4 separate regions of the Homo sapiens genome follow, and all the other regions are linked to region 1. Evidence: promoter capture Hi-C in 16 types of primary human blood cells and fetal thymus (Javierre and others, 2016). All regions are on one chromosome and are shown on one strand. The core of a region is centred on a gene start or on the middle of the fragment in contact, and the rest is flanking DNA. Distances in the headings are between cores, read along the strand shown.

Region 1 (3,326 bases), core at 238-2,737:
TATTAATATAAATAATAAACACAAAACATGAATTGTAGAAGGTTGCAAATAGAGGAAAACTTCAGACACCAAAAGGATCAAAAAACATAAAAAGAAACAGATACAATTTTTAAATTGTAACTTGTTGTCTAGTGCAATGATAAAAGCTATCCACGAATACAGCGATTTTAGAAAGTTAAATTTTACATGCAGTGCTACTAAAATACCAAAGGCCATACATAATGTCTGACCCAAGCTGCCACCTCATATAGCAACTTCTTACATGGGGGCTTTAAAAAGATTGTTTGACTGGTCTACTGTCCTGCAGTGTCAGGAGACGGCTTTGTCTGACATATTGAATTTCCAGTGTCTCTCACACTTCCTCCTTTTCAGATGCACAAAAGGTTTTTGTAAAGTTTCTCTTGGTTTTACCGCTGGCAGCTACAGAAACCATGCCACAAGTCTGGTGTAGAGTTATAGGGTGTGATTTTATTTGACTGGTATCTTCAGAGCTTCTGGATTTTTCAGTATAACCGAGAATTTCCTTAAGAGCTGTAAATAAAAATCGGTACCAGTTCGAACCCTTTACTGGCCCGGTTTTGTGTGAGGTTGGCTGGCTGCTGTAGCACGTTCTCCCCCTCCTCCTCCTCCTGCACCCCCTCGGTTCCCTCCTCTGCCTGCGGGAATACCACTTCAGGGCGTTCAGCAGCCTTCCCAGGGTGGGTCCTGGCCTAGTACCCTAAAACTATAACCGAGAATACCTATCATTGGGCAGCCTAGGAAACGCGACTGGGACTTTTAGTAGGGGCCCCTCACCGCTCTGAAGCACTCACACTTGAGTCAGGGAACATGGGTTTGAATCCCCACCCGGCCGTTTATCTTGTGCTCTTGGGCACACTGTGTCCCCTATATAAAATAAGCACCCATCTCTTCATCTGTCTCCTAGGCCTGCGACGATGCAATGACTGCACGCAAAGCGCACATTCACGGTCAGGTCACTTCTGGCGTCCGGCTGTGGTCCCCGCAGGGTGCCCGCCGGCGGAGCGCATCCTCCGGCAGGGGGCGAGCTCCGCACCCCGCTTTCCTCATGGGCCGGCGCGGCCCGCCGTTCAAGTGGGGAGCCCAGAGGTGCTCCGCGCCGTGGGCGGGGGGCGGTTGGCGCGCACAAGGCCGGACTCCGGCGGGGCGCACCTCCACACGCACCCTCGCGGGCAGCGGGTCGGAGTCGGGGCCTCGGGCCGGCTGGGGGCGGGGCATGGGCGCGGCGCGCGGGGCCCGGAACGCCGAGACAATGCGGCGCGCGGCGGCCAGGAACGGCTCGGCGGGCCGGGGCGCGCGCCGCCTTCCTTCCTGCGGGATCCGCTTCCCGGCGGCGCGGCAGCGGCGAGCGCGCCGATTGGCGGCCCGGTCCTCCCGCCGCCCCGCCCCACGCCCGGCCGGCCGCCGCCCCCGGCCCGGACCCGCCCCTCTCCGCGGGAGGCGTCGGGGCCCGCGGCTGGGTGGCGGGTAGTTCCCGCCGGCTGTGCGCGCCCGCCTCGGGGCTCGCTCTGAGAGGACGCGGCGGCAGCGGACTCGGAGCCCTCGGCGCGCAGGCGGGCGGACCGGCCGAGCTGCGCGGGGCTGCGCGCCGCCCCTGCTCCGCCGCCAGGCCCCGCGCGGCTCCCGCGCCCGGCGCTCCCCTTTGTCCGCGGGCCGGAGCGGCGGCGGCAGCGGCGGTGTCCGAGCGGCGGTCGGAGCCTGCTGCGGCAGTTGAGGCGGCGGCGCCCCTGCGGCTGTGCGCCAGCGCCCTCGCGCCGAGGCGATGCCGGACCAGATCTCCGTGTCGGAATTCGTGGCCGAGACCCATGAGGACTACAAGGCGCCCACGGCCTCCAGCTTCACCACCCGCACGGCGCAGTGCCGGAACACTGTGGCGGCCATCGAGGAGGTGAGGCGGCCTGCGCGGCGGCTCCGGCCGCAGGTATCCCGCGCCCCAGCCCCGCCCGCCGCTCCCGCATCCGCATCCCGAGAAAACTTTCTTTGCTCCGAAGCCGGACGCGGCCGGGCCAACCCTGCCCGAGACAGAAGCCCTTTGTTCCCGCCTAGGTGGCTCGGAGGAGATGGGTGATGGCCACCTTGGGCCTCTTTAAGACCTCCCCTCTCTCGGCCTCGTGGCCCTCGCGGGGTTCCGCGGCCTGGTCTTTTCCCCGCAGCGCGGCCAACTTTGTCCAGAGTCGGGGTCCGCGGCGAGCGGGGGATCCCGCTGCCCGCCGCCGCCCGCCGCCGCCCGGGGTCTTTGGTACCCGGTGCGGACCTTATCAACTTGTTCTTGAAGTGGACCGGCGGGGGCAGCTCCGCGCTCCGAGCTCCCCGCCGCAGCCCCCGAGCGCCGCAGGGCCCCCACCCTCGGGTCCGCGGGTCCGGGGCATCCCGGGCTGCCCGGGAAGGCGTGCCCGCCTCAGCCAGGGCGGCCTGGCTGCGCTCCACCCGTGCCCGGAGAAGGAACTGCGGGCAAGGTGTGTGAGAGTCGGCGCTTCTGGGTCCAAGAAGCCTCCAGGAGCCGCTCCCCGGTTACCTGGGTCTCACCTGCTTGAACCCGGAATGCCGCCCTTCCCCCTCAACCTGGAAAAGGCCTGGTTTTAGTAAAGTGCTCTCAAGGTGCAAAGTCATCACGCCTAGCTGCTAAGCAGTACGCTCTCCAGGTCCTGGGGAGAGGAACACGTAGGAACGAAGAAGCTTGGTTGAAAATTAAAGCCGTGGGGAAAGGGGCAGAGTCTGTGAGTCCAGGGGCCACCGTTGGCTGTGGTTTGAGGCACATCCTCACCTGCAGTCCTCCTTTTCCTTACCCATCAAACGGGATTAGTAATGCATCCTTTCCAGGATCAGAGACTGTGTGAAGTGCTTAGCACTCTGCTCGGCTCAGAATAGGTTTACAAGTCACACGTGTGGCAATAGTGAATCTGTGATTAAATGTCTCTGGGCCAGGATGTCAGGTTACAGTTTTAAAATTGGGTATTGCAGGTGTTTTAGCAGAAGACGCCTGGGCTAGCAGGAGTGTGTGTGTGGGTGGGGGGGTGGGTGTCACCAAAGAGCTTTAAATGAAGCAATGGCGTTATTTTTTTTTTCTGGTTTTTTTTTTTTTTTCCCATTTGAACAAAGCATCTGCTATTAGGAATTGCTTGAAAAAAAATCCAGAATGTTTTCCCTTAATGGAAAAATTTTTTCTTTGTAGCTGTAAACAGTCAATAAAAGGGAGTCAAAAGTAACATTCAGCATTCTGAATCCTGTTAATATAACTTGGGTAGCCTTCCTTCTCTCCATTTAATTTGGCGGAAGAGAGCTGCATGTAAACCTTTCCTATGAATTCG
Region 2 (3,326 bases), core at 393-2,892, 420 kb after region 1:
ATGGAATGACAAAGCTAAAAATGTTCTCTCTCACTAATAAGGGTGAATCACAGCAGCCACCTACTCCACCCAACAATCGTCCTTGCTAAGACTGGACAGTTCAAAACCTGGAAAGCTTTCCTTGTCTGCTCCACACTGGAAACGAATTCACTTCAACACTAGTGTTTAAGCACAGGTGTGCAACAGCAAGGAAATGTTATTAAATGTTGAAATTTACCAGGACATTGTGTTCTTCAGATACAGCTGTGTCCTTTTCACATTTCCCGAACTCCCCTCCTCTCCTGTTTATGGGGGGTGGGGGGGAGCACAACAGATACTCTTACTTGAAAAATAAAGTATCTGTTCAGATTTTCTAAGTAAATTTCCATTACTGGGTTTGGGAAAAAATCCCTACTACATTGTCTGTAACAAAAAGGTGCCTGCGCCTTCTTTCAACTGCCTGAAGCTTGTGAACCGACTGAATACATTTAAAGGGCTCACAGATCTCAGGACGCAGTCTCCCCGCACAAGAAACTTAAAAACGCCTTTCAGTCTCGCAGAGACCTACTTGGATGTTTCCAAGTTCCATCGTTTGGTAGCTACCCAGCATCTGGGGCGAAAAAAAAGGACTTATCCTTGGAAAAGCGGCTTCTTGAGTCTCAACAACCGGAGGGACACAGTAGGGAAGTCAGGGCTCACCTAAAACCCTCCACCCCAGCAGACAGTCCGGCAAGCCCCGGCTCACGTTTGTTTCCGTGCCCGCGAAACTCTCAATGAAAAGCATCTCACAAAAGGCCTCCCCTGCTCCCCGCGCCGAGGACTCACCAGCACCGTGGTGCAGATGGATCTCAGCTCGGACTCCACTTTCTCCCGATAGTCCTTAATCAGCTGCAACTTCTTGTCGGAGGTGTCGGTCTTCTGCTCGATGCTAGAGATGACCCTCCAGGCGGACCTGCGGCCCCCGACCACGTTCTTGTAGGCCACGGAGAGCAGGTTGCGCTCCTCGTTGGACAGCTCGGCGCCCTGCTCGGTCACTGCCTTCATGCAGGTGGCCATGTCGTCGTAGCGCTCGGCCTGCTCGGCCAGCTTGGCCTTCTGGATCAGCTCAGTCTTCTCCATGGCGGGCGCGGGGCCGGGGCCGGGGCGGAGGGCGAGGAGAGCGAGGGCGAGCGCCGACCCGCAGCGGGAGGAGCCTCGAGAGCTGCGGAGGGGCGGGGCGGCGAGGCGAGAACAAAAAGCAGAGAGGGAGCGCCGTCAGACAATGCGGCCCGCCGCCCGCTTTTGTCTCCCGCACACGCGGCCGCTTGAATTTCCCTCTCCCCCGCCCCCTCCCCCGCTGGGCACCCGGGGAGGCCGCGGCCCGCGGCTGGAGGAGGCGGGGGCGGCGCGGAGGCCCCGCGCGCAGGGAGCCCGAGCCGCGGCCGCTCCCGCCACCCCCGCCCGGCCGGCCCAAGATGGAAGCGACCGTTGGCCCCGCACCTTCCCGCCCGGAGCCGTCCCTGAGGGGAGCGGCATCGACAACCGGCTGCTCTCAAGGGCGGCACCTCCGCCCGGCCCTCAATCCGAGCGCGGCCGGAGGAAGCCCGCGGGCCGACCCAGGCGCTCACCTTCACGTCTCCGCGGCCGCGACGCGAGTCCCACCACTTTGATCTGCTTTTGGCTTTAGCTGAGGACCCTCCCGTGTCAGCCTACCCCGGGGCCGAGGGGCGGTCCACCGCCCAATGATGCGCCGAGCTTCTCCCGAGAGTCCCGCCCCCAGCGCGCCGCTGGCCAATGAGGACCGAGCGCGCGGAAGGGGGCGAGGGGGGCGGAGCGGGAGGGAACGCGGAGGCTAGGAGGGTGGGTCGGTACGGGGAAGTTCGGTTGGCCGGCAGGCTGCGGCTTCGGCCACGGGGTTTCCTCCAATTAGATCCAGGGTAAAAGGACGTCACTGTTGCCATGGCGATGCCGTTACCAACTCCCCTCAGCCTCCCCGCCACCCCGGCACTTCTGGGTGCGGCACGAGACCCAGAGGCGCGCACGACCTCCTAGGCGGCGGCTGCGTCTCCCGCTGCGGATGGTGCATTGCATCTCACGGGCTCTGGCCGAGGCTGGACTTCGGAGGGTGACATATTCAGCTGTTTTAGAGCACGGGGGCCTTTCTTTCCTCCACCTTTCTATCCGTGACAAAGGTTTGGATCCCAAGACACTAAACCCAGACCTTAATGACGTTGCCATTAGGGCTCCGAATTAAGCAAACCGCATCCCCATTAAAGAAGAATTGATTCTGGAGACGGTGTCTTCAGTATGGCATTTACATGATAAATTCAAGTTTTCAGATGGGCATCCTAAAACAAAAAATTCCCTTGTGAAAAGGTAGGTCCCAGAAGATCCAGGGGAGTTTCTGTGACAATGCCAAGTATTGTGGTTTTCTTTAAAATGAGAAATGACATTAAGCACAATTTGCAGGAAAACACCTATTACTACCCCTTCCCACCCCCGCAAAAAAAAACCCTGCCCATAACATCTCTCCCCGCAAAAAAAAAGCAATTTTTATGTATCTTTTAGGCTTTCCAGGTTATGCACCTAAATACATCATTTTTCACATCGTTGTCACATGTGCACACGCTTTTGTTTCTGGTATTATTTGTGAGAGGTCACTTGAAAAGCTGAAATCCTCTCCCTGGATGTTGATTTCTGATTTTCTCCTCCTGGGGAACACCCTGCTGAAGCGAGAAAGATTCCCCCAGGCCCCTCCCATTCAGGGTCATCCCTGGCAGCTCCCTTTCCTCTTAAACCACTCCTGTCTCTCCTTGCACTTCCCCAGTTCCCTAACTCCATCCAGGTAGGGTGGCTGCCCTGCCCGTCTGGCGCGTGGTCCCTGTGCCATCTTAAGATGAGAATTGCCCTCTGGGTTCACGCTGCTATGATCCCGATTCCAGCAGGTCTAAGGAGAATGGATCATAAAGAATTTCCCATTCTGAGTGGAGACTGGAGCAAATCCGGAGAATCTCTAGAATGGGAGATTTGAGAGTGCAGACAGATGGGAGGAGAAGGTGCCGACTTTCCAGAAATTCAGACTCCCTCTTGACTGCCCCTCCCTGTCCTGACTTGTGAAGGTTGCTTTGTGCTTTGACAGACAGGAGCGGCCTGGATTGGAAAGGGCCTGTGTCTTAATGCAGAAATGCCTTACTATGTTCCAGCCTTCTAATGGAGGGCCCTGCTGTTATTTCTGGAATCCCTGGGGCCCCGCTACAGACACATGAGTGTTTATGGCCCTGTGGGCTGGGGTGGAGCTGGACACCGAGAAATCCCAATGGAAAGAATTTGCATGTGGAAGGTCAGATAAAATGCCTTCTGTATGACCA
Region 3 (3,326 bases), core at 827-3,326, 350 kb before region 1:
TTTATTTTTCCCCCTCAGGAGAAGAAACCTGACAGTGTAGGCCAGTGGGTATTTATAGCACTGGATAAATCCAGGCTAATTAGAAGCCTGATTTTCTAGATAGCATATTACATTCCTTTGTAAGGGTCAGAAGGCCATGGTTAAACAGAATAAAAACAAAAATGTACATATTAATACCGGTAGCAATCTGAAAATCTCCCCAATCCAGATAATCAAAAGTTGAGTCAACAAAGAAAATGTGGAGATAGTTAAGACTTTTACCAGTCTGGCCTCACCTGCTATTTACTGTCTCTAAGTTACAAATATTCTAACGGAGGGGAGTGACAGAGAAGCAATATTGCTTCTTGATGGTTACTTTCATGAAGCAAAGAAAGGCCACATTATTAAAAATATTGAAAACATCATTTCTCAAATTATATAAACCAAATGTAACCTAAACTGTATCTATAACTGTAAGTTCAAGTGATTCTGAACAAAGTTCCTGGGATAGAAAATCTAACCCACAGCCCAATCACATTTTTAAACATGTACTAATTTTGTTAAAATGGAAACTGTAGCAGGACTTATTTAATGTCTTCCTGTATAATTATTGTCATATTTGATTCAATAATTTTTTTACGACTCTGTGCTAAGTCATTCTAAATGCTAGAGTAATAAAGAATTTATAAAAGAATAAAGTTTTTGATCTCTAAAATATCACCATCTAATATGGGGAAGTGGAATTTGGTGGGCAGGGAGAGGAGATAAGTAGATTATAAAAATACAGAATTCGAGACAAGACAATTTCTATAATATACAGATCACCACAGTATCAATCAAACATAAAAGACACAGTGAAAAGGAACAAATAAAATATAATTTATTTTCCTTAGGCTGGGTGTGGTGGCTCATGCCTGTAATCCCAGCACTTTGGGAGGCCAAGGCGGGTGGATCACGAGGTCAGGAGCCTCAAGACCAGCCTGGCCAAGATGGTGAAACCCCATCTCTACTAAAAAAAAAAACAAAAATTAGCCGGGTGTAGTGGTGGGTGCCTGTAATCCCAACTACTTGGGAGGCTGAGGCAGAGAATTGCTTGAACCTGGGAGGCAGAGGTTGCAGTGAGCCGAGCGAGATTGCACCACTGCACTCCAGCCTGGGCGACAGAGCAAGATTCCGTCTCAAAAAAAAAAAGATAATTAATAATTCTTTGTAAATAGCTGGTTTTTTCCCCAAAGAAGTTCAGGACAATTAAGCTAACAAGTTTTTTGTTAAATTTAGGAGAGGTTAGCTGGTTTTTTCCCCAAAGAAGTTCAGGACAATTAAGCTAACAAGTTTTTTGTTAAATTTAGGAGAGGTTTGAGGCAGTGGTTACCTGGCTGATATTTCTCTGTCTAAATCACTCATCTGAGGGTTGAGCAGTATGAGTCATTCCACAGAGAAACGCTGAGACTTGCTTGGTTCAGAATTAAAAAGTAACTGATAATGCATTTATCAGCAGGAAATGTGGCTATGGTACTGTTTTTCTATTCTATCCAATAGCAAGAAACTTTCTTTTGAAAATAGAGTTATTCCCACTGACAAAGTTTTAAGAGTAACACTTACCTGTAAAACGTGAGTGATGGTTTTATAGAAAGAAGCACAAATGGCACAACTGTGTAACTTATTGCTACTTGAGTTACTATCCATGTTATAACATCATAAAATAATTTCAGTTGGGAAGGTTCAATGAAATAATGTCTAAAGTTATTTCTCATCTGAAATAAAGAAACAAAAACATTTGCTGTATCTTTAAATTAACATTACTTATGCAGTTACACTGGTGATATCAACTGTTGGAAGGATGTGGAGTAGAGTAACTGAAACTCTCCTAAGTTGCTAGTGGGAATGTACACTGCTACTATGGATAAAGTTCGTTCTAAAAAAGCGAATACACATTGTACACACTGTGTATAAAAGACAGAGAGAGGGGAGATGAGGAAGTAACAGGGAAAACATAAATGACTGGTGAGTCTGGGTAAAGGGCATATAGAAGTTCTTTGCAACTTTTCTGTAGATTAGATTCTGTATTAAAATAAAAGTTTCCAAAAAAAAAAGAAAAGTTTAAGACAACACTGCCTAGAGATCCTTAAATCATATTTGGTAAAATATAGTATATAAATAAAGTTTGGTTTACCTTCATCCTTAACTCTTATTTAACCTCTGCATTTGTGAAAGACAAACTTGGCTTTGCTAATATGCAAGTGCATGGTGTATTTGGGGAATGACAAGTAAATCTAATGGAAGCAGAGAATTCATGTATGCATAGATACCTGGTAATTCTAGAGAGGTAAATGGGGGAAGGGAGGAGGGCAGTGGTAGAACTTGAACACCAGGTAGGGAAGAAGCCTATCCTATTCTGTCTGCTATGGGAGGGAGTTAGGTACAGTTTTTAAGCGCAAGAATGGAATGCCAAAAGCCCGTACCTCAGGACAAATGGATTTGTCATTGGTGAACAGGATGGAATCAAGAGCAGGTGACTGCCATGGTGGTGAGCTAGGCAAGAGATAGCAGAGCCTAGCCACTAAGAATTATGGGTTTTGCTAATGTCCTTCCGATGCTTAGAATGTCATTTTCTTCCCCATTATACTTCACTCACTATTGAAATAACTTTCATCTCTCAAAGTCCAGATCCAAACACCTTCCTAATGGGGCCATCTCTAATTAACCCAACCCAAAGAGACTTCTTCCATCTCTAAACACCTATGCTACTTAGTATTTATAACACCCACAGAATCTGTCTTATGCACACACACACATGCATAAGGTATGTACACACATATACACCTTATCCCAAATTAGACTACAAACTACTGGAAGCTACCCTTAGTTAATACTTCTTGAAATTTCCCTCATATATCCCCAAAGTTCCTCAAAATGGAATACAGTAAATATCTGCTAGTTTGTTAAATGAAGCCCTCTTACCTGTAAGTGCCATTACCAGCTTGTTCAAACATGGTTTTTGTCACGTCACTTTCCTCTAACTGGTTTTCAAGGGCTTACCCTAAATTATCCTTCTCCTTATTTCTTTCATGTCACCAACCTAATTTCTCAATTGTTTCCCCAAAATATTACTCTATGTTCTGTCTAGGCAAATACTCTAAAGAACTGTGTCCTCTTCCAGTGTGGCTCATCCACTGTCTTGGCCTCGCACAGCCTAGTCTTCATCTGAGAGAGGACTCAAAGGTTACAGCTTTCAGGAAACATTTCTAAAATAAACCTACCCATTCTGATCATCTTTATTTAACTCAGTTTTTATCTCTCCTTCAGAAAATTCTGTAAAGACAAAGTAACATTTTGTGAGTGCCTCC
Region 4 (3,326 bases), core at 582-3,081, 330 kb before region 1:
AGAGGGAAAGCAAAAAAGAAATGGAGGATACAGAGTGTTTACAATCTGCTGGAACACAAGGCATAGGTAAGAAAGAAATAAGAAAGAAAGAAAAGGAAGGGAAGGAAAGGGGGAAGGGGGAAGGGGGAAGGGAGCCTGGAAAATTGTTAGGCTGGCCAATTCCATGCTAAGAGCTTTCTTGTAAAATCCCCTATAACCATAAAGCATTATTCTCACTGAGGAATTTACCACATAGTTTCTCAAGTGACCTTATTTGTGTTCTTAATCATGACTGTACTTCTACCAGGTGCAGTGTGAAGTTATTTATCTTGAAAAGTATTTTTAAAGAAACAGATGGATAAGTTCACAATGTGAAAATATTTGTATCTTTAAATAAGACTAACCAATACATGCTGTAAAGGCTCCAGATAAATCTCATGACCTTACATTTGGAGATGGCTCTGTTCTTTCATACTGTGTCTCTTCTTTTCCATTTTCACCAGATTGTGTGATATGGTATGATCTGCCTTCAATGAAAGTAATGTAGTCTTTGTAAGAGCAAAGTGGGCCTGCCAGGATCCCCATGAAGTTACAGTTGTAACTCAAATACTCCAGTAAGCTTGGCATGCGCCTGCAATGAAAAGACATGCAACCAGTGAGATGCAGCATAAGCTTCAGAACATCTGATAGAATAACGATCCACCTCACTGCTCTCCATTTCCAAAGTAAAACAAGCTTTCATTTTCATTTGTACCCATACAATAAGAATTTTAAGGATCAGAACATAGTCATGCTCAAAAGTATGTCTGAATAAGAGTTTCTATACAGATCCTTATGAGCAAATATGAAGGTTTCAACTTAGATTTCTCACGATGAGACAAATCAAAGATGGACGCACTATCTGCAAAGTGCTGTCTCCTCCTAGGCAATCATTTGCTCTTCTAACAAACACGTGCTGTGCACTGTGTGCCCCACCTGCTGCAGGGCCTGGATACGGCAGTAAACAAAGGAGAGGACAATCCTGCATCCACAGAGCTTGCATACTGGTTGCAGAAAACAATAATAAAATTTATAAAACATATTTTCAGAAGTGCTAAGTGTTACAAAAAGAAGGAACTCTTTTATTCTATTAAGAAGTCAGAGAAGGCCTCTCTGGTAAGGTGACAGTTGAGCAGAGACCAGGAAGAAGTGAGAGGAGTTGTGTGGATGTTGGTGACAGGGGTTCCAGGCAGAGGGAATGATGCGTGAAGACCCCTGAGCTGGGCACGGCTGGCAGCAAGGCAGCCGTGGGGCTGGAGCAGAGTGGACCCGGGGGAAGAGGTGGGAGCAGGGAAGACAGCTGAGGTGAGATCAGATGGGGCTTGCCTTACAAGCCATGGCAGGAACTTCAGATTTTATTCTGACTGAAATGAAAAAACACAGCAGGGGTTTAAAAGATCTGTCTCAATGCGTCACTCCAGCCCATGTGTGGGGCTCCTGCGGTCTCCAGGCAGGAGGTGACAATGGCTGGAGGAGGGGGCAGATGCTCTGCACGTATCCTGGCAGTGGAGCCTGAAGGCTGCGGAGGGATTGGCTGTGAGGTGGAGGAGAAAAGGGAGTCAAGTCAATTCCACTCCTTAGAGGTCTGTCCAAATGATACATGGTACCTATGGGTAACAGTGAAAATGGGTAGTTAACACAGGAGACTATTTAGACTATTTATGTTACCATATAAATGAATAAGGAGTGTATTTAAAAAAAACAGCTGCATTAAGAAAGCCTACTGTCCACTGTTAATGATAAACCATCACAAAGAAAGCACAACTGCACCTGTGGACAGCAGGCAGGCTTCTTGAACATGTTACAGTCCATGCTCCTCTCTGAATATGATAAGCTCTCTCCTTAAAAAATACAAACACTCTTGTGGACAAGAGAGGTTGAGAGAATACCCTCATAAACAGTTTTTTAAAGAGCTAGGTCTTGTTATGTTGCCCAGGCTGGACTCAAACTCCTGAGCTCAAGCAATCCTTCTGCCTTGGCCTCCTGAGTAGCTGGGATGACAAGCACACACCACCTTGCCTAGCTTAGCATATATTATTTTTCTTTGATAAATTAAATAGAACAAAATAGTGATTCCTGTCCATCTGATACTATCTGGGTTACCACTCAGCCCAAACTACTTTTCTAACTTTTCCAGAATTATTTTTCCACTTTTAAAAATGTCTTGAACCTTGGCCGGGCGCGGTGGCTCACGCCTGTAATCCCAGCACTTTGGGAGGCCGAGGCGGGCGGATCACGAGGTCAGGAGATCGAGACCATCCCAGCTAAAACGGTGAAACCCCGTCTCTACTAAAAATACAAAAAATTAGCCGGGCGTAGTGGCGGGCGCCTGTAGTCCCAGCTACTTGGGAGGCTGAGGCAGGAGAATGGCGTGAACCCGGGAGGCGGAGCTTGCAGTGAGCCGAGATCCCGCCACTGCACTCCAGCCTGGGCGACAGAGCGAGACTCCGTCTCAAAAAAAAAAAAAAAAAAAAATGTCTTGAACCTTAAGTATTTTCTTTTTAGGGCTTGAAACTGATGACAGAAAATGTTTCTGGCAGATTTTCTCTTTCAGTTCTTTCTATTTAATGATGAAACAGCATGCTTTCTCACTGTATCAAAGACCAGGGTAAGTACCCTGCAGTCACAAGGTTACAAAAGAACTCCTTGTACTCTAGCAGCAGAGCTCCATTCTCAATACCAATTATTTTAACACCAAGTCAAACTATGTATCACCGTTAGCAAGGACAGGAGATAGTTCTAAACCATGAAACTGGCTTAAGTAATTTTTGGCTCAACTGTCATATCAAACAACAAGTCATTTTAGGTACCGAAGTAAGTAACTGTATTTATTTATAAAATGAGAACTTAAGTCTAATTGTAATGTATAATATCAAACAAAAGACTCATTCATTCATTCCATTGCTATTTCATATCAACTATGTGTTGTCTCAAGCTTGGGCTTCTCGTGTACAGAATTATTGACACTTTGGGCCCATGATTCTCTGTGGTGGGGTCCCCTGTGCAGTGCAGGGTGTTTAGCAGCACCCCTAGGCGCTACCCACCGGACGCCAGTAGCACCACCCGCCTCAGCAGTAACAACCAAAAGTGTCTAGACATTGTCAGCTGACTCTTGGAGGCGAAATCACTCCAAATAATGACCACGGTTTGGATGATGGGGACAATAAATGAGACAAAGTTCCTGTCCTCAGTGACAGGGGCAGGGAGAGGGACAATTAAAACAAATGTCTTGTATAACATCAGACAGTAATACCTACTATGAGGAAAACAAAGCGGAGCAAAGGGACGGAAAGTGATGGCAGGAAGGG

The links. Contacts are between HindIII fragments. The CHiCAGO score rates a contact against its expected background, and 5 or more counts as called.
Region 2: a contact is called between the fragment with the promoter of YWHAQ here and the fragment with the promoter of ASAP2 in region 1, in 3 of 17 cell types (fetal thymus, naive B cells and erythroblasts). The highest score is 7.1, in fetal thymus.
Region 3: a contact is called between a fragment that was not itself captured here and the fragment with the promoter of ASAP2 in region 1, in 1 of 17 cell types (M2 macrophages). The highest score is 5.8, in M2 macrophages.
Region 4: a contact is called between a fragment that was not itself captured here and the fragment with the promoter of ASAP2 in region 1, in 4 of 17 cell types (M2 macrophages, endothelial precursors, M0 macrophages and 1 more). The highest score is 8.2, in M2 macrophages.

The regions. Positions count from the first base shown.
Region 1 is chr2:9,205,325-9,208,650 of GRCh38, forward strand. ASAP2 (ArfGAP with SH3 domain, ankyrin repeat and PH domain 2) reads left to right here and starts at 1,488. Exons shown (of 28, transcript NM_003887.3): 1 at 1,488-1,906. The coding sequence starts at 1,781. RefSeq lists enhancers at 637-1,569, 1,570-2,500 and silencers at 1,018-1,277, 1,024-1,207. The HindIII fragment of the contact is 2,916 bases long and covers 1-2,692 here.
Region 2 is chr2:9,629,355-9,632,680 of GRCh38, forward strand. YWHAQ (tyrosine 3-monooxygenase/tryptophan 5-monooxygenase activation protein theta) reads right to left here and starts at 1,643. Exons shown (of 6, transcript NM_006826.4): 1 at 1,587-1,643; 2 at 805-1,180. The coding sequence starts at 1,098. RefSeq lists enhancers at 229-1,131, 875-974 and silencers at 1,095-1,444, 1,645-1,744, 1,795-1,964. The HindIII fragment of the contact is 4,477 bases long and covers 444-3,326 here.
Region 3 is chr2:8,859,032-8,862,357 of GRCh38, forward strand. It overlaps MBOAT2 (membrane bound glycerophospholipid O-acyltransferase 2), which reads right to left. Exons shown (of 13, transcript NM_138799.4): 12 at 1,582-1,733. Among named protein-coding and RNA genes, the nearest start is that of KIDINS220, 23 kb to the left of the region's middle. The HindIII fragment of the contact is 6,341 bases long and covers 1-3,326 here.
Region 4 is chr2:8,876,604-8,879,929 of GRCh38, forward strand. MBOAT2 (membrane bound glycerophospholipid O-acyltransferase 2) reads right to left here. Exons shown (of 13, transcript NM_138799.4): 7 at 427-610. Among named protein-coding and RNA genes, the nearest start is that of KIDINS220, 41 kb to the left of the region's middle. The HindIII fragment of the contact is 2,239 bases long and covers 713-2,951 here.